Linked DNA regions of Homo sapiens: region 1 is linked to region 2. Evidence: promoter capture Hi-C in human tissues and cell types (Jung and others, 2019). All regions are on one chromosome and are shown on one strand. The core of a region is centred on a gene start or on the middle of the fragment in contact, and the rest is flanking DNA. Distances in the headings are between cores, read along the strand shown.

The links. The method cuts DNA at HindIII sites, captures the fragments that hold promoters and counts their contacts. A contact is called where the count stands out against the background at its distance.
Region 1: a fragment that was not itself captured here is called in contact with the fragment with the promoter of ISX in region 2 in 1 of the 25 tissues and cell types used here (dorsolateral prefrontal cortex).

What each region holds. Positions count from the first base shown.
Region 1 is chr22:33,738,530-33,742,054 of GRCh38, forward strand. The region is part of intron 2 of LARGE1 (LARGE xylosyl- and glucuronyltransferase 1); the gene reads right to left. The region is part of intron 4 of LARGE-AS1 (LARGE antisense RNA 1); the gene reads left to right. Among named protein-coding and RNA genes, the nearest start is that of LARGE-AS1, 15 kb to the left of the region's middle. RefSeq lists enhancers at 1-101, 102-621. The HindIII fragment of the contact is 7,179 bases long and covers 1-3,525 here.
Region 2 is chr22:35,064,071-35,067,564 of GRCh38, forward strand. ISX (intestine specific homeobox) reads left to right here and starts at 2,088. Exons shown (of 5, transcript NM_001303508.2): 1 at 2,088-2,392; 2 at 2,682-3,246. The coding sequence starts at 3,018. The HindIII fragment of the contact is 5,369 bases long and covers 1-3,494 here.

The sequences.
Region 1 (3,525 bases), core at 350-2,849, 1.3 Mb before region 2:
AAGCATCCCTCAGCCTCCTGGTTGGGCAGTCGTAAGAGACCATGCCAGGGCCGGGCGCGGTGGCTCACGCCTGTAATCCCAGCACTTTCGGAGGCCGAGGCAGGTGGATCACGAGGTCAGGAGATGGAGACCACGGTGAAACCCCGTCTCTACTAAAAATAAAAAATTAGCCAGGTGCAGTGGCAGGAGCCTGTAGTCCCAGCTACTTGGGAGGCTGAGGCCAGAGAGTGGTGTGAACCTAGGAGGCGGAGCTTGCAGTAAGCCAAGATCACGCCACTGCGCTCCAGCCTGGGTGACAGAGCGAGACTCCGTCTCAAAAAAAAAAAAAAAAAGAGAGACCATGCTTCCCAGTTTCCATGGACTGGAAACTGTATGTCCCCATGTATGTCCCTATCCCCCCCGCATTCTTAACAGTGTTCCAGTTTGGACAAGACATTATACAGTCATCCTAGATACAGTGGGCAGAGTATGACAGGAAGAGTGAAGAAAGCAAAGACAAAATTTGCAAGCCGTGTAACCTCAGCGTACGTACTTACTCTCTCAGGCCTTAGTTTCCTTATTGGAAAAATGGAATAACAGTACATGCCTCGCAAGTTTGTCAAGATTAAAAGAGATACCATGTGTCCTTTACCGTGCCAGCCCTGGGCTCACTGGGCACGTGTAGAAACTTGATGGGCGCTGAGTTATCACTGGCTGTTGGTGCACACCGGCAGGACCAGCCTGGGATGCCTGGCTTTGGGAATAGCTCTTTTCCATCCTAATTTCTTGATGAACTCTCGAGCCTCCCTGTCTCCTGTTCCTGCCCCTGGGCATCTGACATCCTCAGTTCACAGCTAACTGCAGAATCATAGCATGAAAAAAGGCATACTTCTCCAAGGGCTGAATAGGATTTCATAAACCAAAAAACCTACAGCTTTCAGCTGCGGTACTGTCCTGGTCTAATTTACCCTGCAGCCACGCAAGACAATGAAGTTGGGAATTTCTATTTGAGGGAGTATTTTTCCCCTTCTCTCCCTCTCCTGACAGTGGTCTTCAATAACAGCCTGTGAAGCTCTGGGTGCAGGGAGGCTAAGGGAGGGAGTCAGAGAAGTGAACTCACTGAAACGCATCTGCAGAAGCAGATCACTAAATGTCCCACAGACAGTGGTGCAGCTGACAGTGCCTGAGCTCAGTGGGGCAGCCTGGGGAGAGGAGAAGAGCAGGAAAAAATTAAGCTCTTCCTTGGGCCTGATGAAGATTAATATCTCCTCCCTGATGAGATGAGGCAGTTTAATCGCTGCTATTAATACAGAATCACTGAGAGCCAAAGATGAGGGCATGGAAGGAGGCGGGGGATGAGATGAGAGCACCTCAAGGTATGAGTACAGAAGCGGAGAAGGACCCCCTGAATGTAGAAAGACACAGCTGATTTTCTGCAGGGCTCAAAAGCCAATAGAGAAATTTGAGAGCTGAGGCACTGTGTGGTATGATACAGTGTTTCAGACTTGCTGTGTTGCTTTTCCTACTGGGATCATCTGACTGATTGGGTTAAACATGCCGATCCCTAACACCACATCTGGCATACGATCTCAGCACACAGACCTTGACCATCGCTTCCTGGAGAGCCCAACAATGGCAGGACTCAAGCGTGGTCTTCTGACTCCTCTCCTTGGCCTATTCCTAGTCATGCTTCAAGATTCAGCCCAGGAGGCATCTTCTTCCATGAAAGCTTTCTTGGATGTCCCCAGATACTTAGGTGCCCCTTTTTCTGGATTCCTGAACACCGGCATACATACTTCTATTATAGCAAGTATGCTAAATGGCAATAGTGAGTCCTTCCCTGCAAAAGAAGATTGCTCTCAGCCTTAAATTCTTGCTTCCCACCTTTCTATAATTTCCCTTTTTACTCATTAATCAGTGTTTCCATCATCTCATCTCCTGGTTTCCTCCGAGGACCTATTATCTTCAGAAAAGGTCATTATCACCTAAGACTAACAAAAGAACAATTTTCATCAGGACAGAAACTATGTCTTAATCTTAGTGTCTTTCTCGGACTCTAGTCCAGTATCAGACGTACACTTGGTACTTAATAAATATGTGCTCGGTATGCAATGATCTAAGAGAAAAAGAAGGGGTTAGGGCATAAATGGAGGCACCAAAAAATCAGCTGGCCACCTAGGGGAAACCTCCACATCCAAAAAGAAAGGTGCAAACCAAACCACTATGGAGACCTTGAAGTCCTGCAACCTGCTCAAAAGCCACAAGATCATTCTCAAAGGTGCGCCATTAAATAAAAGCAAAAACAGTTCATGCCCTCCCCCGCCACCGCCATCCTCACTCACTCAAGCTCTGTGTGAATTTTCAACTCAAATATGCTCAGGATTCCCGACTCTCCAAATCCCACACCATCTGACATTTGGGCCTGAGAGTTTGAGAAATGTGAAAGAGGCATGGAAGAATCCCAGAAGAGTAGGCCTTGTGCAGAGCAATGTTTACCTTCGATTGTCACAGAATGATCTGGAACCACTTCATTAAATAGAAGGAAAATTGCAAATGTGAAGGCTACTAGTTTGGGATTCATAAAAGAAGGCAAGCCTTTGTCAAAATATGTCTGCTGTGTGGATGATAAGCAGCACTCTGAGCACGAAGGCCACACGTGTGGAATAAACGCTGCAACATTATAAGCACTGAGGCTTCTGGACCCCAGCATTTAATTAGATTACAGTCTTGACAATAGCTCACCTGATACATCATGCAATAACAAGCTCCCTTGGGTAGGTTAAAAATGCAAATTAAGTGTCAGAAATAGGAACACCACCTCAACTACTGAATGCACTCCCACTAAGTGCAAAGCACAGGAGATGGTTTAAAGAGGCCCAAAAGCCAGTTTTAACCTTCAAGGCACAGGTTGATAGCAATATAAATATCTATAGAAAGACCAACAACTGAAGCATCAAATATTAGTCACCTGGATTAGTTGCAAACATTTCTGGTGGAGGGAGCTGAGACTCTCCTACACACCCAAGTGTGCTGCAGCCAAGTGCAGAAATGCGGAGCCAACAACTGCACCCAACACCGCTGGGCTTGGAGTTGCGAGAAGAGCAGGCTTCTGGCAGCACCAACACAGCCTGCAAATACCCATGACCATAATTTCTCACGATGCCACAGGCAGGATGAGGTGAGGACCCCGTGAAAGCGACTGCACAGAAACAGAGACACTGAGAAAGCACAGGCCAAGCGCCTGGAATGGCAGCGGGAAGAAAGAGCTCTGTCCTGCAATCACCTTGCAAGAAATCCAACCTTTCCAAAGCCCAGAGCCAGGAGGGGTGTGCAAGAGAACGTGAGTGGGTTCCATGCCCACCCTCCAGATGGATGGAGCCTCTGTTCGGGCAAAGAACTGCTCCTTGGCTGAGGGTCCCAGCAGAACCAGCTTCAGATACCCCACTTTTAACCACTCACAAATGAGAACGTACCAGTTGTCACCAACCGGCTGTGTTTCTGCAGTTCATTTAACCATTTGGGGCCTCAGTTTGCTCATATGTAAGA
Region 2 (3,494 bases), core at 838-3,337:
TGATAAAAGAATTGAAGTCAGTAACGTCAGGATTATGGCTAATCATGGGAGAGAGGGGAGTAAGCGTCCGGGTCCACACCACAGAAGGGTGTTCTGTTAACCTGTCCAGGGGCCAGTCACACCTTGGAAAGAGGCAAAATGAAAGGAAATCAAACAAGGTGCTGAAAACAACAGGTGTAACTCTGGCAATTTCTCTCGCTGCTGCTCAGTTCTTCACCTGTGAAATGAGAGGGCTGAGCCAGATGGTCTCTGGGTATTACAGCAAAGTGGGAGGGATGTGAGGTGCAGAGCCAGACTCACCTGAGTTTGAATCTTGCTGCTTCTAGTGGCTAGCTGTCCTATCACTCCACTTCTCTGGGCATGTCTCCTCAGCTGTTAAATGGCATTAATGACACCTAATTGATCAGGCTGTTGAATGGATTAAGTGAAACGGTGAGCACACAGCTGCAGGCACGAGGTCCAGCAGAGAGAAAGGGCTCCATCGCCTCTCTCTTTTTGCCTCTGCCACTTCCACCCCCAAAGATCCTGTCCTTGCTCTTGACCAAGCATCTCAAGTACCCATCAGAGCTTCCTCTGCCCTGAGTGTAAGGAACCTTGTCCTCTCATCCAACAACCCCTTCCATGGACCAATGGTGGGCCTGACTTCTAGGGGACTCTGGCCTCTTCACTGCAAAAGTCAACAAACTGGTTCATTTGTCTCCTGGCAGGAAAACTCCCCTGTCCAGCCCTAGGAAAGGGATAGGTCTAAGCAGGGTCATGTGACTCCCTCTGGCCACAGAATGTGAGCAGAAGGTCTATCAACCACTTCCACTTCTGACTCATCAAAATTTCTCCTTTCAACAGAAAACCAAATACTGAATGTTCTCACTCATAGGTGGGAGTTGAACAATGAGAACACATGGACACAGGGAGGGGGAAAATACACACTGGGGCCAGTCAAGGGGTTGGGGGCAAGGGGAGGGAGAGCATTAGGACAAATACCTAATGCACGCAGGACTTAAACCTAGATGATGGGGTGATAGGTACAGCAAAGCACCAAGGCACATGTATACCTATGTAACAAACCTGCACATTCTGCACATGTATCCCAGAACTTAAAATTAAAAAAAAAAAATTCTCCTTTGCTGTCTCCCTTTCCCCAGAAAACTTGGAGCCTATGATTGGAGAATGGTGGCATCACTGTTTGAAAGGAATCTGGGTCCCTAAATGACTACATTAGAATGTGATGTGGGTGAGCTATTATGCTCCCAAGACTATAGGGTTTACTTGCTACTACAGCAGAGCCTATTCCCCCCCTAACTAAATCAGACAGCCTGACACTTCCAAGGGGCACAGCTCCTAAAATGGGGCATCTTTACCTGTTCCCTCTCTCAGGGTGAGTCCCTCTCTCTCCTGACTCACTCTTCTCAGGGAGTGGAGACCAACGTTCCCTATCCTTCACCTCCCACCCCTGCCCTCTATGAGAAGATCTAGATTCTAACATCCAAATTTACATTCACAGTCTCTGCCAGGGTATCCATCCCTCCTGTGCAAATTGGCTCCTTGTGGCCAGCATGGCATCATGGACATCCCCAGGGGAGTACTGTGATCAGGCCCTGCCATCACATTTTCTGTACCTCCTTGGTCTGGACCTCAGTTTCCCCATATCAGAAAGCCCTGGAATGCTTTTCCTGATCTGATATTTGCAAGCCATGGAAAGCACATCTGAGAGCAAATGAATGCCTAAGGCTGACAGCCAGCAGACTGCACCTCAGCCCAGCCTCCCCCACACATGACCACAGGCTCTCCTGGCTGAGTAAACATGTTTTATTGGGCCTGGGTACACTTCCTGGCCATTCTGCTCCCACCTTCCCTTCCCCTGCTCTGGCCAGTTCCCCAGCACAGCCCCTCCCTGGGGCCTCCAATACCTGTCCTTCAGATCCCCACTGCCTCCTGCCACTTTTCTACCCTGACACCTGCATCCCCAGCCTTAAGGGGCGTGGAGAGTTTTTCTCTTATCAGCCTGTTTTACTGCCCCCTCCTCCTTGGTTACACAGTAATTTGGAGCAAAATTCCAGGCAAGGACAGATCAACAACTGTCAGCTCCCAGTCAGAGAGAAAGGGCCTCTTCAGTCTGTCTCAGGAGACTGGGAGAAACAGCATAAAGGACCCCACAAGGAAGGGAGAGGTACCCTGGGTCAGGCGCTTGTGGAGAGAGGGCTTCGCATGTAAAGTGACGTCAGGGAAAATAGAACAGAAAAAAAGCCAGGGCCAGCCCAGAGGCACCTGAGAAGAATCAGACCCACAGCTCAGCCCAGCCCTGGCACAGAGAAGAGACAGGCCTGGCAGCACCCAGGGACCCCCTTTCCTCAGCCTCCACCTGCAGGACAGCAGGAGCACTGATGCGCTGAAGGTACGTTCTGGAGTCTGGAAGCAGCAGAACTGAAGGAAGTAAACACGGGTGTCTGGGAAGACCCCTCAAGCTGCAGTAAAGCCCAGGACTGAATTGGCCACCTGAGGCCAAGGGTGGCACTCCAACCTCCTCCTAAAGGCTGGCTAGAGCCACAGGAAAGGGCCAGAAGCCAGAGAAAGGGCAAAGGTGGACCCCTGCCTCCAAACCTCCTCTGGAGACTGACCTCCTCTTTCCTGTGCCTTATTGTTTCTCCCTCTTCTCTTTGTTCGCCACTGGGCGGTGACCTCAGGGATCCTGGCCTAACCTGGTGATTGTGCAGGCAACTGTGTCCGAGAAGACCCTTCTCTGGAAGATTGAACCCCAATTCAGCCATGGTGACTCCTTTGATGTCAAACTGGTAAGGGCTGAGCCGTGGGCACAGGATACCACTCCTTCCAGCTCTTCTGCTGTGACCTGCCCATGGAAGTCCCTGTGGACACGAAATCCTGTTTGGATCATCTAACTGGAGGCTCTCTGTTCTTCACCTCCACGCGCCCTCTTGACCCCAGGAGGTTCAGGGGAGGAAGTACGCCACTCTCCACTGGCACCCTCCTTGGCCTACACAGAGTCACCCCTGAGCCCCTCAATGTGTGCTGAGGTGGGCCCTGCTCTCTGCAGGGGTATGGAGAGAAATAGCTTGGGGTGCTGTGAGGCCCCGAAGAAGCTGAGCCTGTCCTTCTCCATTGAGGCGATCCTAAAGAGGCCTGCCAGGAGGAGTGATATGGACAGACCAGAAGGGCCAGGTGAAGAGGGCCCCGGAGAAGCTGCGGCCTCAGGCTCTGGGCTAGAAAAGCCTCCAAAGGACCAGCCCCAGGGTAAGTGTCTTCTGATCATTTCTTTCTGTTTCCTGGTCTCCAAGACCCAGCTGGGCTCAGGCAGAGAAAAAGCTTCTCCGTCCATATTAACTGGATAGAGGACTCTAAAATTCAGAGCAAGACCTGGCTCTGGGCTGGTTTCCTGATATACCTTTCAATCTAACCCAAAACTGTGCTTTTCAGCTTCAGACACCAAGGCTCAGTTAGTTGCAGAATGCAGGGACCTGGGGCTTGTTATTGTAACCAGG